Regions from separate parts of the Homo sapiens genome. Here regions 2 and 3 are each linked to region 1. Evidence: promoter capture Hi-C in 16 types of primary human blood cells and fetal thymus (Javierre and others, 2016). All regions are on one chromosome and are shown on one strand. The core of a region is centred on a gene start or on the middle of the fragment in contact, and the rest is flanking DNA. Distances in the headings are between cores, read along the strand shown. Region 1 holds the start of DYNLT5 (dynein light chain Tctex-type family member 5). Region 2 overlaps PDE4B (phosphodiesterase 4B). Region 3 has its middle 33 kb from the start of LINC01702.

Evidence for each region. The method cuts DNA at HindIII sites, captures the fragments that hold promoters and counts their contacts. A CHiCAGO score of 5 or more calls a contact.
Region 2: a contact is called between a fragment that was not itself captured here and the fragment with the promoter of DYNLT5 in region 1, in 1 of 17 cell types (naive B cells). The highest score is 7.1, in naive B cells.
Region 3: a contact is called between a fragment that was not itself captured here and the fragment with the promoter of DYNLT5 in region 1, in 7 of 17 cell types (total CD4 T cells, naive CD4 T cells, total CD8 T cells and 4 more). The highest score is 8.4, in total CD4 T cells.

What each region holds. Positions count from the first base shown.
Region 1 is chr1:66,749,838-66,754,408 of GRCh38, reverse strand. It overlaps DYNLT5 (dynein light chain Tctex-type family member 5), which reads right to left and starts at 1,950. Exons shown (of 5, transcript NM_152665.3): 1 at 1,825-1,950. SGIP1 (SH3GL interacting endocytic adaptor 1) reads right to left here. Exons shown (of 25, transcript NM_032291.4): 25 at 3,270-4,571. The HindIII fragment of the contact is 3,147 bases long and covers 1-2,610 here.
Region 2 is chr1:65,958,111-65,962,681 of GRCh38, reverse strand. All of the region lies in intron 3 of PDE4B (phosphodiesterase 4B), which reads right to left. Among named protein-coding and RNA genes, the nearest start is that of PDE4B-AS1, 90 kb to the left of the region's middle. The HindIII fragment of the contact is 1,103 bases long and covers 1,901-3,003 here.
Region 3 is chr1:67,486,886-67,491,456 of GRCh38, reverse strand. No RefSeq gene overlaps it. Among named protein-coding and RNA genes, the nearest start is that of LINC01702, 33 kb to the left of the region's middle. The HindIII fragment of the contact is 4,993 bases long and covers 1-4,571 here.

The DNA of each region.
Region 1 (4,571 bases), core at 701-3,200:
TAGCAAAAATGCTTAGCTGATGAAGACGGAGGTCATTGACAAAAGATATGCATGTATAGCAGAAAGATGCTATCCTACATCAGAAACCAATATTTGTATTGCCCCCCAAATGTAACCATAATACAACTTTGCTAATTAATATTTGCTGTCACTGTTATATTTTATTTTTGAGACAGGGTCTTGTTCTGTCACCCAGGTTGGAGTGCAGTGGCATGATCATGGCTCACTACTGCCCCAAACACCTGGGCTCAAGCGTTCCTCCCAACTCAGCCACCTGAGTAGCTGGGACTGCAGGTGTATGCCATCAAGCTGGGCTAATTTTTAATTTTTTGTAGAGATAGGGTCTATGTTGCCCAGGCTGGTCTTGAACTCCTGGGATCAAGCAATCCTGCTTCAGCCTCCCAAAGTGCTGGGATTACAGGCATGAGCCACTCTACCTGGCCTATTTTATTATTTTAGAGACAGGATCTAGCTCTTGTTACCCAGGCTGGAGTGCAGTGGCATGATCATAGCTCACCGTAACTTCAAACTCCTGGGCTCAAGCGGTCCACCCACCTCAGCCTCCCTAGTAGCTAGGACTACAGGCCTGCACCACCATGCCTAGCTAATTTTTAAACATTTTTGTAGAGACAAGATCTTTCTGTGTTGCCCAGGCTGGCCTTAATCTCCTGGCCTTAAGTGATCCTCCTGCCTTGGCCTCCCAAAGTGCTGGAATTACAGGCATCAACCACTGTGCCTGACCCACCATGACTTTAAAAAATAAAATTAGGGGTAGGGAGCTAGAAAATAAATAAATAAATAAAAATTAAAATTAACCTTGCTTTCCCAAAGATTTTTTGTTGTTTGTTTTGTTTTCTCGAGCAACATTTACATAGTTTGTAAAGAGCAAATAGGACTTAACTTTTAAATAAATAATTTATTGGAAAACTCCCTCCTTCCTACTAATACTTGTTAAAAAGCTGGTAGTAGCAATGGACTTCCCAGAACTTGGACTATAACTCTAATAATGCCCTCATTGTCTACCTACAAATTTAAGTATTCATTTAAATTATTTCATAATCTATAAATGTGAGAGCCCCGATAAGGAAATACTGTGCTAGACACCAAAGCATAAAAATAGAAGAGAATCCATGCCTTCAAGGAGCTGGCAGTTGAGTAGGTAGGGCACACAAGAACATACCCTAAAACCCAGTGGCATCAATGTCAGAGCAGAGGTGCTGTGTGTGGGTGAGGCAGGCAGCGTGGTGTGTGTGTGCACGTGAGTGTGAGCGTCCTTGAGTGTGTACCTGTGAGTGTGCATCTCTGTGTGTGCAGGTGCCTGTGTGTATAAGTGTGTCTGTGTTCGTGTGTACGAAGGTGAGTGTGTTTATGAGTGTGGAAAGACACACAGCCTGATTAGGTGGGTCATTCAGGTTTTGCTGCAAAGCCACATAGACCCATCTCGGCCTCAGCTGTTTCCAAAGCTGCCCTGCAGGCCGCCCCCTCCCCAAGAAAGGCCAGAGTTGGGACCTGGAGGTCCTCATGGGTGCGGCCAGCCACAGGAAGACCGCCCCGGGTCAGGGGATGACCTTGCTGGCCGGCTCTGCGTTGGCCATCACTCTTGAAGCCCAGCCCCCAGCCATGCAATGGGGCAGGGGACGAACCGTTGGGACCGACTTTCAGTTCCCAAATTTGGGATCATTTTTTCTTATGTGTTGGGGAGAGGAGGAATAAGGTGGCGGAGAGATCGGGGCCAAGTAGGGCCATTTCTCAACAAAGGGCCGATCCCTTGCCCCCTATCCTTCCTTTGGGGTCCAGACGCGCTGCAGAGAGAGGCGACCCTACCTGCAGCAGGGAGGCTTCGCCCGGAGCCTCCCAGACCTCCGGCACTGCAGACACTGCGCGCGGCGCGGCTCCCGCGTCCCAGGCTTCATTCAGCCGGCGGCCGCCCGCGCACTCTCCCTGGACTCTGAGGCCGGTCTCCAGGGTGACCTCAAACAGAGCCCTCGGCCCTCCCCGGCCGGACTTGGCCGCTGAGTGGCCCTCTGAGCTGCCCTAAGGATGTAGAGGATCTCATCTTCACTGCCCACTGGGGGTCACTCTGAGCCGGGCTGCGTCCTGGGTTGGCGGCGAGCTGGAGGGGAACTGGTTCATTGTGTAGCGAGGAAGACATTTGGGACTAAAGACATTTGCACCCCTAGGGCCCCTCATCAAGTTCCTTTTCCCGCAGACATCAGGGGCAGGAGTGGGAAGTGCTGCGGTTTCCTAGCACAGGAAATCCGAAGCGCAAAGACAAAGTAAAGTAGCCCTGCCCTTTTCCCGGCTCCTAACGCTGCTTCGCACGTTCCCCCTCCAAGGCACAGGCGGTGGAATGTGGAGGTAAATGAGCACTTACATTGGCCAGATACCCCAGATACCGACAAACATTGGGATTTAGTCGTCCCAATAACTCTGTCAAGAAAGGAATGTTTTCCCTTTAAAGGATTTGGAAAATTGAGATTCTAAAATGTTAAATAATATGCCCAAGGCCCCTGAAACTCATGGTCTTAACTCCAATGTGTTACAAACCGGGCTGGGTTCCTTCGCTTTCCTTAACAAGACTCTTCTGAGCCTGTTAATGTCTAAGAAGCTTTGAAATGAGGCTGTTTGGGGTTGAGGACCTACCTGCTGGTATGAATGGGCTTTTCCTCTTCTTCAGCGACTATCCCCAGCCTAAGCCTGGTTTGGGCCTCCCCAAACCAAAAGCAAACAAAATAAACACTATAGGGACCCTCCTGTAGTGGGCAATCATTGGAAGCAGAAACAAGATGCCTCCAAGCATCTAGCCAAGGGCATGGCTCTTGATGAGTGTCCTGCTGGAATTAGCATTAGCTGACAGTAATACATTGGGATTCCGGTGGAGCACAGTGTTAGGATAGTGTTGGAAGAAGAGAAATAGATATTTTTGCCCATCCCAATCTCTACTCACAGAAAGATAAGAACAGGAAAGGATTGTTGATTGAATATCTACTATGGACTAGATAGGAACTGCTAGGTGATGAATAAACATTATCTCATTGAATTTGTTCAGTGACTATGACATAGGGGACATTACTCTATTTTTTTTTAAGATAAGGAAATGTAGAATCGTTGAGTAACATGCTCAAGTCGATATTTAAATCACAGAGCTGAAATTTGTCTAACTCTTAACCCTTGACCTTTGACAGACCTTTGGCCCACCATCCCTACCCTAAACATGGAATGAAGTTTTCCAGAAATGCGGGTAAAATTTTAAGAGGCTGACAGCAAAAGATATTCACAATTCAATTTATTTTCATATTTTTCATTTATTTTCCAGAAAAAGAAATCACATTTCAGTAACAACTTACATATAGAATTAAACTTTGTTCTGGAATGGGAGCCCTAGTTGCAGTAACGTGTCATAATAAATAATTGCATATTCAGGATTTTGTGAAATAGGTGATTGGGAAAATTATGAACAAAAAACATTTACAAAAATTATTATTTACAAAGAGTGATATCCATACTATTTCTAACTTATAAGGCAAGTAATGTTAAGATGGTCTCATGATTATCTTCAACAAGTCAATTACACACTTTCCTGTCACCATTGCCCAGCAGAGAGCTTTGCTGCAATTCTGTGAAGGAGCAAGTAAGTCTTCGCTTCCGTTGTTGGTTTTCTCTTGAGCACAGCATAGAAGCAGTAAAGCTTTCATTACAGACTAAGCAGTAATGGCTGTCAGAAAAAAGTATACTCTTTTGAAATAGACGTGTAGGAAAAAGGCTGGGAATCAACATTTTGACTAAATTTTGAAAGTATCTTGAGTATTTTAATTCACAGTTTTGTAAGTATTTTATGCCCAAGGTATTTTTGTGAAATTATGTACTTAGTACAAGATTAAAAAGAAATTTAGTGTATTTTTGCTACATAGATCAAAGAGAGCTCTAAATAAAGGCTACCACCAAATCAAATTACACACAGCATTTTCCTTAATTGACAGGATTTCATTACCTATAGAAACACAGCAAAATCTTTCTGAGATTCCTAGATTCTTGCATTGTTCAAGTTTAAAAAAAATCAATGCCTTACATGGCCACTTAGTAAGAATGAAAATTAATATCCGAGTATTTAATTCATATGATCTTTTACTATACAAGTGAAAAACAAACAAAAACTCTTTTTAATCGAAAACAATAGTGTTCAAACAGCTTAAAAAGCCAGCTGTATACATTACTGCTTGGCCTGTGGTGAAGCTCTGTTCATAGATAAGATTAATATATCATCATATCAACACTTGGCTTTTTCAAGAAAAATTATTCAGCAGCAATTTTCCAATTCCCCTTAGACAGAGAGGAAAGAGACACACACACACACACACACACACACACACACCCCCACACACACACAGAGAAAGAGAGAGAGAGAGAGAGAGAATATGAATTAGATAGGAGCCAATCTCTTTCATGTATGTCCATTTAACAAAGCAAGAACTAAATTCTGACCTGAAAAATCAACACAGCTATATGAATTATCATTCTAGCAACTTGAAAAGGGAAAAAAATCTGACTTTGGATCTTGGGACAGTGGTTCT
Region 2 (4,571 bases), core at 1,203-3,702, 790 kb after region 1:
TCCATCTTTGCTTCTCTCTGTACTTGTTCCATTTTTCTCTTTCTGTAGATAGCTTCCTAATCAGCTTTCCCATGGCCCAATGACCTCTTGAGCCACCCAAATTTGGATAATCTCCCTATCCCAGGGCCCTTCATGGACTAGCAACAGTTTCTGCATCCTTGCTTCAATGTTTTGAAAGTCAGAATCTGATTCAGTCACCTCAGCTGCTTGAGTCAAGCCACACACATCCTATGTCCCTAGTAAAACAGTGGATTCTGCTACCTGTGGGTCAGAGTTCCACCTCTGTCCAATCAGCCATGGCTGGGAGGTGTCTTATGTTACAGTAGCAGACCCTGCCTGGCAAAGTAGCACCTGAGCATGTCTGCAGATGGTCCCCAACTTACAATGGTTCAACTGACCCCTTTTTGACCTTAGGAAGTTGTGAAAGGGATGCACATTCTGTAGAAACCTTACTTTGAGTACCCATACAATTATTCTGTTTTTCACTTCAGTGCAGTATTCAATCAATTACATGAGATATTCAATACTTTATTATAAAATAGGCTTTGTGGTAGATGATTTTGCCCAACCGTAGGCTAAAGTAAATGTTCTAAGCACATGTAAGGTAAGCTGGGCTAAGCTATGATGCTCTGTGGGTTACGTATATTAAGTGCATTTTCGACTAACAATATTTTCAACTTATAATGGGTTTATCAGGTTGTAATCTCATTATAAGTGGAGAAGCATCTGTGTTAAATCGCATGCTACAGACTCTTCAGCCGCACTTAACTGTTTGTTATTTACTGCGTATGTACCCCATGCTCTTTCAAGCCTTCATGCCTTTGTTTCTCGCAGGAAATTCTCTCTCCACTCCCAATCCATCTTCTCCTTCCTTAAGGAACTGATCCTCTATGGCATAACATGACACCTTCCCTAAGTAACTTCATGACACCTTCCCTAGGTACCTTTCATAAGCCCTCTGACATTACTACGCATTTTTCACTCATCTGTCTTCCCATTGAGTTATTATGCACCCTGCACTTGAAATAAGACAAACCGTTGCCTCACCAACTTATTGAATATGCTACCTTAGGAAAGCTATTTAGAGTCTCTGTATAATGGTGGATAATTATATTTATTTGGGAGGGTTGTAAGGACAAATATAGCACATGGCAAGTACTCAAAAAGTACTAATTATTATCTTTATTCTTATTATGAACACCTATAAAAGAGGAGCTATAAAATTATAATATTATAATAGATATCGTCTCTCAAAGAGACAATGGATTACATGGAAAACCCAATAATTTGTATGGTTTACCATAGCTTTCCTGCCATTTTGCAAACATACCAGGCACACATCCTCATTTCAAGGCCTTTGACTTTTTGTTCTCTCTGCCAATAACTCAGTTTTTCTAGACAGATGTATGGCTGGTTTCTTTCTTTCATTCAAGTCTTTGCTCAGTTTTTTCCCTCTTCAAAGAAGGCTTTTGGACAATTCCATCTAAAGTAGCAAGCCTCCACCATTCTCTAGCCATTTGCCTAGACTTTATTTTTCTCTATATTATTATGAAACATCCTACCTATGTGTGATCCACATATGTCACCTCTACAAATACAAGCTCCACGGGCAAAGGTTTCATCTGTTTTGTTTCTTGTCCAATCTCCAGTGCCTAAAACAGTGTACATTTAGGTCCCTAATAATTTTTTTAATGAATAAATGTTTGGACTTACCAGGAGTCCAAAAATGTTTTTTATTGATTTGAGCTAAGTTGATACATGCAAAAGTATATGCCATGTATCCAGTGGAAGTTGAGTTCAGAGAGAGGAGCCATTATAATGATTTTATATATTTACAAATCTTTACAGTTTATAAAGCATGTTCACAAGCTTTTTTCTGTTTACTCCTAAACTTCAAGCTTTCTAGAGATACCCAGTGGCCTCAGAAGACACTGCTCAAAATTGCAAATGTCTCTAAGTTAGAAACTGGTGCCCTTGACACAACGTAGGATAGCATTTAAAAATATGGTCATTATTTTTGAATGTGTATGTTTGAAAAAATATATTTTTATATATATTTTTAGCCTGGATAAATTGGTATTAGTCTTATCTTTCTTTCACAGATGATGAATCTGAGGCTCAGGGAATCTGCCTAAAGTCATGACCTAAAAAATGCAAAGCTCAGTCTAACATTCAAGGCTGTCTGACTCCTAAAGTGATGTTAAACCCAAAAGATACATTCCTTGGCCAAGAATAAAAAACTTTCAACCTCAGCAATCACAGACAATCTATTTCAGCAATCTCTTCTTGCCTAACTTTCTCTTTCTCAAAAGTTAATATAGAATGCTATCTTCCATATCCACCACCGACAGATAATGGAGATGGTGACCTATCATTCTTGCTAGTGCCTTGGGCTTCTTGGAACTGTGTTCTGCGAATTTACTGCGCTGCCACACAAAAGCAAATACTTCCTTCTCAGTCACCGATGCACTGATACAGTGAAACAACAACTCTAAAAGGAACTTCTGGAATCTCCCCCGCAGTTCCCCTGTTGAGAAAAAGATTCTCAGGCACAGGCATTAAACAATTGCTCAGACATAAAGAGCTAAAAATAGCAAATGCAATAATAAAATGTAGACTTTACAAAGCATTTTGTATTTTGTTAAGATAGCCTAGACCAAATCAAATATGTGAGCCAGGCACGTGGCTCATGCCCGTAATCCCTGCAGTTTAGGAGGCTCAGGAGGAAGAGAATTGCTTGAGCCCAGGAGTTTGAGACCAGCCTGAACAACATAAAAAGACCTCATCTCTACCAAAATAATAATAATCATATATGTGAAATAGACGTGGTAAGGGATAAAGGAACTCAACTATCAAAATTACTTTTTTACTGAATCGTCGAATTCAACCTGTTTTGCTGTTGATGGTGAGGCAGTGTGCAGTAGTGAGAAAGCCTGGGGATTTATTAATCAGCACCCTCTTCTGACCCTCATGAACTAAGGGGTGAGTTAGCCAACCCAAGCTTCTGCCTCCTCATCTGTAAAAATGGGGGTAATAATACCTACTTTACAGGATGATGTTATAAAAATAAATCTAAGTAGAGCAAATAAAGAATCTAAGCTATAATGAGTAGCCAGTAATGGTACTTAATATTAATGTTAATATTATTTTTGCACTCTCACCTCCCATCTGCAAATGAGTTAATTGACATGGACCTGGTGGTGTAGTCAGCAGCAGTTTTAATCTCTCATATCCGACAGGAAGCTCATGGACTTTGTGGGTTCTTTATCCTTTATGTCAAAATAGTACCCTACCTATTTCTCAGTAATATCATTGAAAAGCCCATTTAAAAAAATTCAGATTTCTAGAAAATTACCATACATACACACTATCAAACACAACAGTACCTAGTCTTCTCAGAATGAGGTGATTGTTACAGAATCAGAAACAATGAAGCAAATATAAAACATGTATAAATGCTAATCAGAGAGTATTGTTTTCAAAACTAAATTTCAATGAATGTCATGTAAGTGAAAAATAGACAAGGTCCACATTTATGCAATCCTCAAATGATTATCCATTTGAAAGAGATGTGCTGTATATTTAAACCTACACAAGGCACAGCGGTGTTAGCCTACAGGAAATTAACAGTGCAGCAATGCTGCCCTCTTGTGTTGGAAAATAAAACAAAAGAAAATATTTTATTTCTGCATCTGGGAAGCACAGAACACACTCAAATTTAAATGATTAAATACCTTCTGTAATACTTTTCTGATATGCAGTTACGAACATTTGTTTCAAAAGAAGTTTTAAATATAACTATATAAGTCATAACTACAGATACAAAACTGCAGATTACTGCAGATATACAACTGCAGATAAAACAGGTTAAAAAGATAAGGTAACACTATGGTATTTTGCGTGTGTGTATGTGTGTGCGCGCGCGCGCGCGCGTGTGTGTGTGTGTGTATCACATTATACCAACATACTAAAAAACTTAGTCAAAATGGACACATTATTAGAAAAAACATAACATTAAAACAGTATTAAGAATAAAGAGTAGGCTTTAAATAGGTTAAAAACGAATCACAGTTTTAAAAAATCTTCCCATGAAGAAAATATCAGACCCAGATATTGTATAGGTGAATCCTACCACATTATTTATAAATTTTAAACTCTTCCCCAAAAGATAAAAAGAGGGCACAATCTTCAAGTCACTCTAAGAGCCTACCATATCATTGATACTTTTTAAAATACCACAATGTGGGAAAAAAATATCAGTCAACTTCACTTATGAAACTAGATGCAAAAAAATTAAATAAAATATAGGCAAACTTTCCAAATATAAATTTAAAACCATAATAATATATCTTGACCAAGTTGAGCTTATTTTAGGAAGGAAAAGGCAGTTTATCATTAGAAAATATATTTATCACCATATCAATAAATTTTTTAAAAAAACCATCTCAATAAGTGCAGGGAAAAATATAATTTAAAAAAAATCCAACACAAGCATATTTTTAAAAATCTTATAAAGCTAAGAACGCAAAAAGCGCCCATAACCTAATCAAATGCATCTATAAAAAGCCTAC
Region 3 (4,571 bases), core at 1,144-3,643, 740 kb before region 1:
AAGTGGGAGGATCCCTTGAGCCCAGGAGTTCAAGACCAGTCTGGGCAACATAGCAAGACTCCATCTCTACCAACAACAACAAAAAATAGTTGGACACAGTGGCACACACTTGTGTTCCCAGCTAATCGGGAGGCTGAAGTGAGAGGATCACTTGAGCCCAGGACGTCAATGCTGCAGTGAGCCATCATCATGCCACTGCGCTCCAGCCTGTGAGTGACAGAGTGAAACCCTGTCTCAACAGAAAAAGGGGAAGAAAAAGCACACTCATAGCACATTGCAGGCCTCCTGAAAGTTGTTACCAGTGCCCCATTCCCTGCAGGACAGAGTCTGAGCTACTGGGAAGGGCTTCTAAGGCTATGTGCTTCCCATCTGCCTCTGGAACCTTAGTTGGCTGCTCTGAGGCCCAGGCCTTGCCCCCGGCAACCTCAAGCACTTTATAACACCAGCCTTTCTGAGCTACCTCACTGGTTCCCAACCTTGCTTTCTTTACCAGAAATCTCCTCCCCACCTCCTATCAAACCCCAACCCCATGCCTTGCTTTGTGTGCCTGATAGACGTTAGCTCACTCTTTTTCCCCAGATGTGGTAAAATTCACAAAACATGGGACGGGTGCAGTGGCTCACACCTGTAATCCCAGCTCAGGAGTTTGAGACCAGCCTGGGCAACATGGCGAAACCATGTCTCTACCAAAAATACAAAGAAATATAGCCAGGTGTGGTGGCATGTGCCTGTCGTCCCAGCTACTCCAGAGGCTGAGGTGGGAGGATCACTCGAACCCGGGAGGCGGAGGTTGCAGTGAGCTGTGATCGCACCACTGCACTCCAGCCTGGGTGACAGAGTGGGACCTTGTCTCAAATTTAAAAATAGACAAATAAATAAATCGAAAAGACCCAAGGCTTCTTGGAAGAGGTAGGAATCAAACTGGTCATTGAAAGTCATGTGGGCATCATTCAAAGAGTGGATTTGAGGAGGCACAGAGAGGACCAAGAAAGCACATTAGAGGCCCAGAGAATGAGGCTTGAGCAAACCCTGTGGGAGAAGGGGTGTTGAGCAGATTCTAGAAGGATGTGGCTGAAGCAGAGGACATGTGGGCACAGTTGGAGATAGGCCTGGAAAAGTAGATTGGGACCAAGTGTGTAATGAATCTGTAGTCAATGAGGAACTATGAAATGTGAAAATTGCGGCTGGGCACGGTGGCTCACACCTGTAATTCTTTCACTCTGGGAGGCCAAGGCAAGAGGATTGCTGGAGGCCAGGAGTTTGAGACCAGTCTGGGCAACATAATGAGACCCTGTCTCTCCAAAGAATTAAAAACTTAGCTGGGCATGGTGGCACACACCTGTAGTCCTAGCTACTTGGGAGACGGAAATGGGAGGATTGGGTAAGCCCAGAGGTTTGAGGCTGCAGTGAGCTATGATCACACCACAGCACCCTGGGACAGAGCAAGATCTTGTCTCTACAAATAAATAAATATGATCTGAAAATTGAGTATGAAATACTCAGAATACTGAGATCATGGTTTAGGAAGATAACTGCAGGGTCTACAGGAGGATGGGTTTAAATGGGGAGAGACTAACTACTAGGTTTGCACACTCAGATGCCTACAGAGGGCAGACAAGGAACAAAATTGCAATAGGTACCTGGTCAACTGAACCACACATACCTTCTCATCAGTGGGCTGCCGCTGCTCAGTTCCAGCCAATGCTGCCATGTAGATTATGAGTCCAGTGTTATCAGATTTTTCCATTTTTCAGGGAAAGCCAAACAATACAGATTTTCATGAGATGCTAACTTGTTTAAAATTTTTATTTTTAATTAATTTAATTTAATTTTAATTTTTTAAATTTATTTATTTTTTCTTGGGAGACGGGGTCTTGCCCTGTCATCCAGGCTGGAGTACAGTGGCGCGATCACAGCTCACTGCAGCCTCAAACTCCCTGGTTCAAAGGATTTTCTCACCTCAGCCTCCCAAGTAGCTGGGACTACAAGCACGTGCCACCACACCTGGCTGATTTTTGTATTTTCAGTAGAGATGGGGTTTCACCATGTTTCCCAGGCTGGTCTCAAACTCCTGGGCTCAAGCTGTCTGCCCACCTCGGCCTCCCAAAGTGCCGGAATTACAGGCAAGAGCCACTGTGCCTCGCCCAGGACTCTAACTTTTAAGTATGAACTTGTAAGTTAAAATGACTCTCAGACCACCTGTGTGGAGTCTCTGAGAAAAGAGTAAACTATTTTAATAGTCCAGGAAGAAGTGACCAAGTCCTTATCTAGGGCAGTGGCAATGGGAACCAAACATGGAAACAGACAGCACAAAACCTGGTGGAAGTAGGATCCACTGAATTTGATGACTAACTGGATGTAGAAAATGAAGAAGAAATGTTGAGAAAGACTCTGATGTTTCCAGTCTATATGCCTTAGAGGAAGCTGATGCCCCAGGCAGCTTCATAAAATGGAACAAGAATAGATGTTGAATCAGAGAGAACTAGCTCAAACGCAGCTCTACCACTTACTAGCTATGTGACCTTGAACATGTTACCTAACGTCTCTGAGCCTTGGCTTCTTCGTCCATTATATGAGGTTAATCTGAATGCATCCCTCTTGAGTCATTTATACAGATCAAATGGGGTCATGCACCTAGTGTGCTTAGCACAGAGTGTGGCACATAGTAAGAGCTCAAAGGTTTGTTGTTGAAATTTATTGGCAACATTCCTTTACTCTACGTTCAGCAAGAGCCTCCACTGTTTTCTTTTCTTTTTTTTTTTTTTTTTTTTTTTTTTTTGAGATGGAGTCTCGCTCTGTCACCCAGGCTGCAGTGCAGTGGCACAATCTTAGCTCACTGCAACCTCTGCCTTCCGGGTTCAAGTGATTCTCGTGCCTCAGCCTCCCGAGTAGCTGGGATTACAGACACAAGGCACTGTGCCAGCCTCTTTTTTTTTCTTTTTTAAGAAAAACTCTCACTCCATCACCCAGGCTGGAGTGTAGTGGCATAATCTCGGCTCACTGCAACCTCTGCCTCCAGGTTCAAGCGATCCTCCCACCTCAGCCTCCAGAGTAGCTGGGACTACAGGCACACACCACCACACCCGGCTGTATTTTTTGGTATTTTTGGTAGAGGCAGGGTTTCGCCATGTTGCCCACGCTGGTCTCGAACTCCTAACGTTAAGTGATCCACCCACCTCAGCCTCCCAAAATGCTGGTATTACAGGCATAAGCCATTGTGCCCAGCTTAGGTCATGTCATTTTTGGGTTGGATTTTCTGACATGTGTCACCAAAAGATTCCTAACTGATTTGATTACAACTACTATTACCATGACTTTTCCACTTTGATTCCAAATGATGTCATAGGCTTTGTAGAGTTTAAAGCTGGCAGCCCCTGGGAAGGCTATCTCTAGTGGTGGTACCTCGAAGACGAGGTCCTGTTCTTGGATACCTCTAAGATGAGAGGATGAACAGAACACGTATTTGTGAAAGGTCCAAGGTACTCTGTGAAGGTGCAGTGAACCTGTCAAAGCTCAGCACACCTTACATCAGTTCAGCATACTTTCAGCCCCATTTTGCTTGTTAGAGAATGACTGTATCAAGGAACCAGTGGTGTGAACTGGATTAGTTCACTTATTAAAAACATGTTTTTATGTTTACATTAACTGCCTTCCTCACTAAACTGTCCGCTTTGCATATATGGACTTTCTCATCTTTACAGACTTTGCAGACAGAGAGAGCCTTTGAGATCATCTAGGCCAAAGTTATCCAACGTATAGTAAAGGGGTCACTCTTTTCAAAGTTGAGAAGTGGAGTCAGGCACTGTAGCTCACACCTGTAATCTTAGCACTTTGGGAGGCCGAGGCAGAAGGATTGCTTGAGAACAGGAGTTTGAGATCAGCCCGTGCAACATAGTGAGAACTCATCTCGATTTTGTTTGTTTGTTTGTTTGTTTTTGAGACACAGTTTCACTCTGTTGCCCAAGCTGGAGTGCAGTGGCGTGATCTTGGCACACCTCTGCCTCCCGGGTTCAAGTGATTCTCCTGCCTCAGCCTCCCAAGTAGCTGGGATTACAGGCAGCCACCACCATGCCCAGCTAATTTTTGTATTTTTAGTAGAGACAAGGTTTCACCATGTTGGGCAGACTGGTCTTGAACTCTTGACCTCAGGTAATCTGACTGCCTCGGCCTCCCAAAGTGCTGGGATTACAGGCATGAGCCACCGTGTCTGGCCCCATCTCTATTTTTAAAAAAAGAAAAAGAAAAAGAACTTGGAAGCAGGAGGAAGGAGTGGAGGATAGAAACTGCAATACAGATTCGTGGACCTTACCTTGACCTACTGGATCAGGATCTCAGGGATGGGCCTAGGAATAGTAGTAGCTTCACGGGGTTGGGTAAGTCAGTTGATGTCTTTAAACCTGAGTTACTATGTGTATAAAATGGGGGCAATAATTCTTCTTAAGTTTGTTGGGAAGATCAAAGCCAATGATGTAAGTAAAGTGTCCAACCAAGCCTGGTATAAAAATGGCTTCTGAATTAAAGTATGTAATTCAAGCTATACCCTGACTTCAGGGAGAACCCTGCCCAGGGAG